Linked DNA regions of Homo sapiens: region 2 is linked to region 1. The links are contacts of gene promoters, found by promoter capture Hi-C in blood cells and fetal thymus (Javierre and others, 2016). All regions are on one chromosome and are shown on one strand. The core of a region is centred on a gene start or on the middle of the fragment in contact, and the rest is flanking DNA. Distances in the headings are between cores, read along the strand shown.

Region 1 (4,055 bases), core at 589-3,088:
TTTTTTGTTTCTTAACTGGAGAGCTGGAGCCATTATGAGCAAAATAAACATAAAAGATTTTTTCCGTCCAACCGATGGACTAAGCTAGACGTTGTATCTTCAGCATTTTCTCTTCATGTACACCATTGACTATTCAGCACTATACCTAGCAAATATCAGTCATAAATGAAAACTATAGTCTGTTTTCACAGAAATGTTTCTTGTGATTTTCCCTCTTCGCTATTCTTATTTTCATTGTCTTAACTCAGGTCATCAGCATCTTTTCCCATGAACTACTGAATTTTTCTCCTAACAGACCATGTTCTTCATCTTCCTGCATCCCATGTATCTCCAATGTTTCCAAGGTGTCTTTCTTGATGAAAAAGCACTGATTTTATAAACTTCAATCTCTTCCTTTGGTTTAGAGGTTAAAGCCTAACCCATATATAGAATTCTGCATCTTTCCCAATCAAGTTTTCTTATTTTTCTAGTACAGTCTTTTGCCAATTTCCATCTTCCTTCTTATCTTTGGATTCACATCCCCAACTCCGGAGAAGGCAAAAACATCAAATTTATTTACATCAATCGTTTATTTTTTCCCACTTTATGCTTTTGGCAATGCTGCTCCTGCTGCATAGTATACACTTTCCCCTTTTTATCAGGTGAAATTCTACCTATTTATAAGTCCCTGCTCAAATACTAATCATATTGAAAGCTTCTCTGAATACCTTGGAAGAAAAAGTTCTGCCTCCCTCATCTGAAATCATCTCATAGCACTTTTATGTAACCCTATTTTAGTACTTAACACATTGAGTTATATTTAGTTATTGCCCTTATACTTTCTCTGGTAGATTATGTGCTAATTTCTTTCTTTCTTTATCCATCTATCCATCAAGAATTAATTGAAGACCTGCTATTCATCAGATACTTTGTTAGAATATAGGGGACGGAGTTGTAAGAACTGATTTTAGCTTTAACAAGTTTATTCTTTATATGGAAATCCAACATTTAAGTTAATTTTAATTTACAATATAGAATATTGAGTGCTGTGGTAGGTACTCGTCTCTGCAGAGAATATTTTGGAAAAAAGGAGCATTAAAATCTACTGCATAGGAAGGTAAGAATTAGGCCCAGGGACTTTCTCTGGTTGAGGTCGACCATTCATTTATTAACTATTTAGAGTGGAGTATAATTAATTCTCGATAGATGTCATTAAATACACTTTGTTTCGAGTACGTCGAGGCTTATTCTCTCTAGTGTGTTGGATAAAGGCCACAGGTAGTGAAGATATTTCAGAGATGTGAAGAATCCAGTAGGAATGACAACATCCAGCACTTCCATTCAACCAGATCCCACAGGGAAAATGTCAGTTTTGTGAAGGCAGATACATTAACCACATACAACTCGATTAATATAAACAAATAATCTTATCCATTGAGCTCTCCCACAGACCTTCTTGGGCCCAATCAGACAATAATGAAGTGCAGGCGAGACAGCATTCTGCACTCACATTCCAGGCACTGGTTCAAGTCCCTCCTCCAGGTCCCTCAAGAAAGAGACAGGATGACTGACTTACTGTATATTTGACTCATTTTCCTAGAAAGTGCAGACTCGCTATAAAATGTGTTAGGTGGTGAGAACGCTGATGGTTCACCGTTTTCCTCCACTTTCAGCCTCAGTGCAAACCCTCTGCCCAAAGCCTCGCTCCAGTACGGAGGAGCTGCGCCTTCAACACACTTTCTCTGTTGCCAGGTAACCACTTCTCCCTCAGCCTAGTCTCCAAGGGTCACGAGCCACTTCCGCCTCCCCCTCTCGGGCGCTCCAATCAGCGACCTGTGTAGCTGTCACGTGGGCCTCTGGGGCAGACCCTGGAGATCGGGCTCGCGGCGCCTTCCATCGTGGCTCCGCGCTGGGGCTTGCGGAGCACGCTTCCCGCCCCTCGGAGCCCGCGGGCCCGGCCGCCCCGCCCCCGGGCGCCCTGAGCGAGCAGGCGGGGAGGGCGGGGAGGGTCCGCGCGTTGGTGGTGCTCGCCTCGCAGCTGCGCCCGCCGGCTTCAGCACCTTCCGCTGTCCGCCGCTGCAGCCGCCTCCTCCTCCAGGTAAGAAGCCGGTGGGGCCGCAGAGATACCAAGGCAAGCTCAGGATTGATGTGGGTGATGCTGGAACTGTCGCGGCGTCATGCGAGAGGGGCTCTGACCTCCCTGTGATCGCGGACCAGGGTAATGTACGTCCTGCAGGGCTTTGCACACCATGGTGCCTGATGAGATAATCAACTGAGTTTTAGAGCCACACACCTGATTCTTACAAGGCACAGCAAGCAGCGAATATTTATGTATCTAAACTACCATTGCAGTGTAAACTGTGGACATTTCGAGGGACATTGTTTTATTTTTATGGCTATTAAGTATATGTCTAGAGCCTAGGTTGCTGTTCTCATCCCTCCGCCGGCCAGACACTTCTGTATAGATCATTTACCCCTTTGAAGATGGACTTATTAGTAGGGTTGTACTAAGAAAGGTTTGAGTAAAAAGGAAATGCGTTCCAGAAAAAAGACGGTATTGGATATAAGGCAGGTATACTATTTATTAAGTAGATCGTAAAATAGAATCTTTGCTGTCCTCCCCTCTCCAAAATCAGACTTGTTTTGCTTGCAAAGATTGAAAGGAACAAACAATTTAAGGAGACTTTTTAAATATATTAATTAAAAGCAATTGATTCGAATGAAAAGTAATGAAAAGTCCGACCATGCATCAAAAATAAATTATTTTGCATATTAATATATACATATATACTATATATATTTAACAAGGGTTTGAAGAGAGATACTACATTTCTGAATCTTTCATAAATACCCTTTAGAGAAAACTATCAAAAAAACACAAGTTCGTTGTAAAAGGATACGAAACGGCCAAAGCCCAACAATGTGAGATTATAGTTGCCGTTCTTAGCACTCTAATAACATTTCTGCGTTGTAAAAATTAGAAAATAAATGACAATGAATTTATGAGAATTTATAAATTTGAACTCCACAAGAGTTTAAGCATTAATTTATTTGTAGATTTATGCCTTATCATTACCCTGCTTGCCAGGAGCTGATGCTGGGCGGGTGGTGAAACAAACTCTGTGGAGAAAGCACTCTTACATCCTTTTGAGATTCTGCCTCACTGGCCTAAGTGTTCAAGAAAATGGATATAGTTATATCTAACTGTTTTGAAGGCAGACGTCTGAGATAGGTGGTCTGAGAACCTTTCCCCTCCTATCATCTAAAATTAAATATAGTTATTAAGTGCTTTTGAAAAGTTGTCAATTCGTTAATATTTTGGGAAACATCCTTTACTGGATTGTTTGGAGATTAATGTTACAAATGGTAGCTTTAGAGTTCCTGGGAAGTTTTAAAGCAATGACTTATTTCAAAGGGCATATACGGAAAGTAAAGCTCTTGAGTTCTGCAAACGTAATTATGTAAAAATAACTAGTTGAATGTTATTGTTTACATTGTTCTGACTTTCTCTTGTGTTGATATTAATAGAACTGCTTAAAAAACTGTGGACATCTGAAGAAGACGTTAAATATGCTTACTTGAAAGTTTTAACATTCTTTATTCTTCTTATTTCTAATGATAAATAGTGGTGTTCTAAATATTTTTAAGTTACCCATTAGTCACATAAATAATTCCATAGATTAGAAAGCCATAAATTAATTTAGGCCAGAAAAACAATGCTCCCAGTAGAGGGGAGACTAGGGCTAGATTGCTTTTGTTGTTGCTGTTTTCTACAGACTCTATCTTGTATCCTTTAGTCTGGGAAAGGAGGGACAGGGCCAGTGGCAGTTTTTTAATTACTTGGAGAAGTTTAAGAACAGGTTTCTGTTTGTTTGTTTTATGGTTTTACCCTGATGGATACTAGAAGTCCAACATGAATGATTAGGTTGTCACTATTAATGAAATGTGTAAATTCTCCAGAGTACCTGATTTTGTTGCCTAAATACTTTAATGACGACTAAAATGTAATTCTGACAGTTTTGAAGGATTCACATTTTCATCCTATATTCCAGAATTTCTTTGAAATCTAACATATG
Region 2 (4,055 bases), core at 752-3,251, 110 kb before region 1:
AAATGTCATGATATTTCTTGTCACCTTAAATGATTAATAGCAAGAATTCTATTATTCCTACAGAAATTATCAGCCATAATTTCAACAATGTTAATTTCTGAATTATCAAAAATATTTAGTTGAGTAAGAAAGTAGAGCTCTGAAACTAAAAATACTTACAGGAGCAGAGATAATACTAAATGTTAAAATATAGTATTTGTAAGACTTTTTTTTTTCTCCCATGAATATTTAGAAAGCCTTTTTGGTTATTTCAGGCTTCTGTTATACTGAATGCCACCCATTCCAAGTGACCACTGGGAAAGGGAATTTCATCTCTGCAACCTAGAAATTACTACTCTTAAATACAACACGTCGATAAATAATTGGAAAGCTTCATCTATCATCCTGCCTACTGAACTCCCCATGGAATGAAAAACGTCACCTTCTCAAGATGCTTATCTGCCCAACTGACCCTGTAACAAGCCATTTTTCTTTATAAATAGTATTTCATGTGAAAATACTACTTTTAGTAGGAAAAATGGGTGGAAGAACCATACATTATGATTTTTTAAATCTGTGGATATAGAAGTGAAGATGGAGATAAAACAGTAAAAATAGATATTGATTCCCATGATGTCCATATGATTAGGCCATGAACAGACAGAAAAGGAAAGAGAGAGGATAGAGTTGGACAAGCACTGGCCTATAAGTCCGAAATTTCTGGATTCCATCCTCATTACCTCTGACGGCGAAATAATCTCTTGAGGCTTCAGTGTCCTTAACTAAAAATGAGGGGAATACCATCTACCTTGAAAGGCTGTTGAAGCAATGAGGCTTTAGGCATTTAAAGCAACTAGAATACGCACAGTTAATAAGTAATAGCTAATAAGAAATATGAATGAATTGCAACAATTTTCTGAAAAAATATCTGGATTTATCCCAGAATTATATAGCTTTATACAAGTCAAGGCTTCTTCACATTTATATTACCTGGGTAGTTAATGGTATTGGTTAATGCGGAGCGTGTTTGTGAATGAGATAAGACTTAAACTGGTAAACTTTTCATAAGCAGATTGCCCTGCATAATGAGGTGGGCCCCATTCAATCACTTGAAGGCCTGAATAGAAAAAAAAAGACCAGCTTCTCTGAACAAGAGGGAATTCTCCAGCAGTCTACCTTCCAACTTTCCCTACACCATCGGCTCTCCTGGGCTTGCAGCCTGCTGGCAGCCATGCTGCAGACTTTGGACTCACCAGCCTCCATAATCATGTGAGTCAATTCCTTATGATAAATCTCCTTCCACACAGACACACATTCTGCTGATTCTCTTTCTCTGCAGAACCATGACTAATACAGTGATATTACAAGGCCCAGGTGACCAAATATCTCAGAGACAAGTAACTAAAACAAATACCTCAGAGACAAGTAACTAAACTTTCCTTTTCAAGAGTCAAAAATCTGTTTGACTCTTGAGAGTCTTTGACTTTTGAGAACATTCTTTTATGTTTGAAATATTCAAGTTAAGATACTATATTCCTTAAGAAGCTAGGAGAAGTTCGTTTCTATGTACACTTCAAAGCTAGATGTCCAAGGAGTCTAGTGGAGTTCTAAGCTGCATAATGGATTCCCATGATGGATTGTAGCTTAAGGTAGTGATCTCAGAATGGATGTCCCCAAAGCAATGGAATTAACATATTATTCAGTTATTTTCCCAGTTGCCCATTGTAACAAGGAGCGGAGGCTACAGTACCTCCACCTTCTTAGGGTAAGGATTGTTGTAAGAAAAAATTTTAAATTCTTCCATTTAAGCAACATGTAACTAGGAATATTAGAAAGCATTAATCCATTCACTCATTCCAGAGATATTTTTGTGTACATCTTTCCTGAAAATTTTTGTAATACATTTTGTCCCAGAGCCCACAAAATCATATAATAAAATAGATAATGAGCCATCCTGTCCACCAATGAGTCCAGTCCTGGTGTATTACAATGCCCAAAGAAAGCAGAAATCCGGTGGGGGCATGGGAACTTGGGCCTGTAATCTCAGCACTTTGGGAGGCTGAGATGGGAGGATCCCTTGAGCCCCACAGTTCAAGACCAGCCTGAGCAACATGGCAAAACCCCATTTCCACTAAAAATATAAAAATTTGCTAGGCATGGTGGCGCATGACTGTGGTCCTGACTACTTGGGATTGCTTGACCCCAGTGGGTAGAGGCTGCAGTGAGCCAAGATCACACTACTGCTCTCCAGTGTGGGCGACAGAACAAGACCCTGTTTTTAAAAAAAAAAAAAAAAGGAGAGAAAAAGAAAAGAAAAACAGAAATCCCCTTGCCTTAAAAGTTAAATAATGGGAATGTTCTACTTTGATTCAAGAATAGAGCATGCATGCATTCTACATATCTAAAATCCTAAATTTTATAAAACAAATAAAGAAATCAAAGGGCAGGGAAATTTTATTCTATATCAAACTGTTCCAAGAATTTGATAGTTTTTGAAGCTGAAAAACCTATAAATACACTGTGTTGGAACCTCGGCTGTATCATGACAATTTTCCACAGAGAAGTAGTCTAAGGGAAAGTAATTTGTGTAATAGATGTGAAAATGACTCCGGAAATAGCATTTGCAGACCTAAACTGTATCCATTTTAAGATATGTAGTACAAAGAATTAGGAAGAATGCACTTTCTAACCACAAAAAGAGTAGCCAATTGCCTGTAAAGCAGTGTATGGCAGGGATTTAATTGATATTTGCATGTCATTATTTTTAGTTAATATAGTATTATTGCTTTGTTTATTATGACACATTACACAACTTTGAGTTCTGCAGGACACATGGCAGACTTATAATGTATATAAAAACTACCATGGAGGTCGGGCGCAGTGGCTCACACCTGCAATTCCAGCACTTTGGGAGGCCGAGGTGGGCGGATCACCTAAGGTCGGGATCGAGACCAGCCTGACCAACATGGAGAAACCCCGTCTCTACTAAAAATACAAAATTAGTCAGGCATGGTGGCACATGCCTGTAGTCCCAGCTACTTCGGAGGCTGTGGCAGGAGAATTGCTTGAACCCGGGAGGTGGGGGTTGTGATGAGCCGAGATCGTGCCATTGCACTCCAGCCTGGGCAACAAGAGCAAAACTCCATATCAAAAAATAAAATAAAATAAAATAACTACCATGGGAACTATTAAAATTGAGTTAGAAATGTTAACCCAGTTGGTTTAAAAAACATCTTTTTTTTACAGTCCTGAGAAATGCTGACAGCACTGATCACTGGGTGATAGAAATTTGTTCAATTACATGTCCTTAGCTTTTCTTCCTGGCCCGCTCTATACCTTGACTTTTCCTAGAGGGCAGTATAGTCTAGGGCTGAGCTGTCTGAGAAGGTAGACACTAGTCACATGTGGCTATTTCAATTTGAATAAACTAAAATTAGATGAAATGTAAATGCCTTTGCTCAGTTGTGCTGTTCACAATCCAGGTGCTCAACAGTCACTTGTGGCTAAGGCTCTGGTATTGTACAACAGAGATCTAGAACGTTTTCATCATCTCCATGAGTTCTACTGGACAGCACAGCTCTAGTGGCTAAGGGTGTGGCCCCCGTGGCTAGGTTGTATCAGTGCGAAACCCGGCTCAAGCACTTTAGAACTGTGTAAGCTTAAATGAGTTTCCTTGTCTTTCTGTGCCCCAGTTTCCTCACCTGAAAAATGAAAACACTATTAGAGTTTTAATTAAAATGTGTAGAGTACTGAGGACAGTGGCTAGCAAATAATATATACCACACTGAGTTTTGTCTATCATTTTTCCACCCGAAGAGTCAAGCCAAAGCAAAAGTCTTAAGAGGTCTAAAGAGGAGTGAATCTGAGATGATGAGTTAGACCATCTCTGGAGAGACAATGGAAGTCATCATTTCTGTTTTCCTTTCAGTGAGGTTGCACCCGTGTCTTAGCCTTTGTAGTCCAGCTACATCCCTTTCACAGGGCCTCATATCTGTCTTTTCCATGGGTCTTAAACATGATTTGGACTTGGAGTATTTTCTACATATCTAGGGCAAGAGTAGAACTTTACCCTGGCT

The links. Contacts are between HindIII fragments. The CHiCAGO score rates a contact against its expected background, and 5 or more counts as called.
Region 2: a fragment that was not itself captured here is called in contact with the fragment with the promoter of WDR17 in region 1 in 2 of 17 cell types (total B cells and naive B cells); the score reaches 7.9 in total B cells.

The regions. Positions count from the first base shown.
Region 1 is chr4:176,064,003-176,068,057 of GRCh38, forward strand. It overlaps WDR17 (WD repeat domain 17), which reads left to right and starts at 1,839. Exons shown (of 29, transcript NM_181265.4): 1 at 1,839-2,077. RefSeq lists a silencer at 1,715-2,094. The HindIII fragment of the contact is 5,440 bases long and covers 693-4,055 here.
Region 2 is chr4:175,950,772-175,954,826 of GRCh38, forward strand. The region is part of intron 2 of LOC107984113 (a long non-coding RNA gene); the gene reads right to left. It also overlaps a transcript of GPM6A not described here. Among named protein-coding and RNA genes, the nearest start is that of WDR17, 110 kb to the right of the region's middle. The HindIII fragment of the contact is 3,267 bases long and covers 369-3,635 here.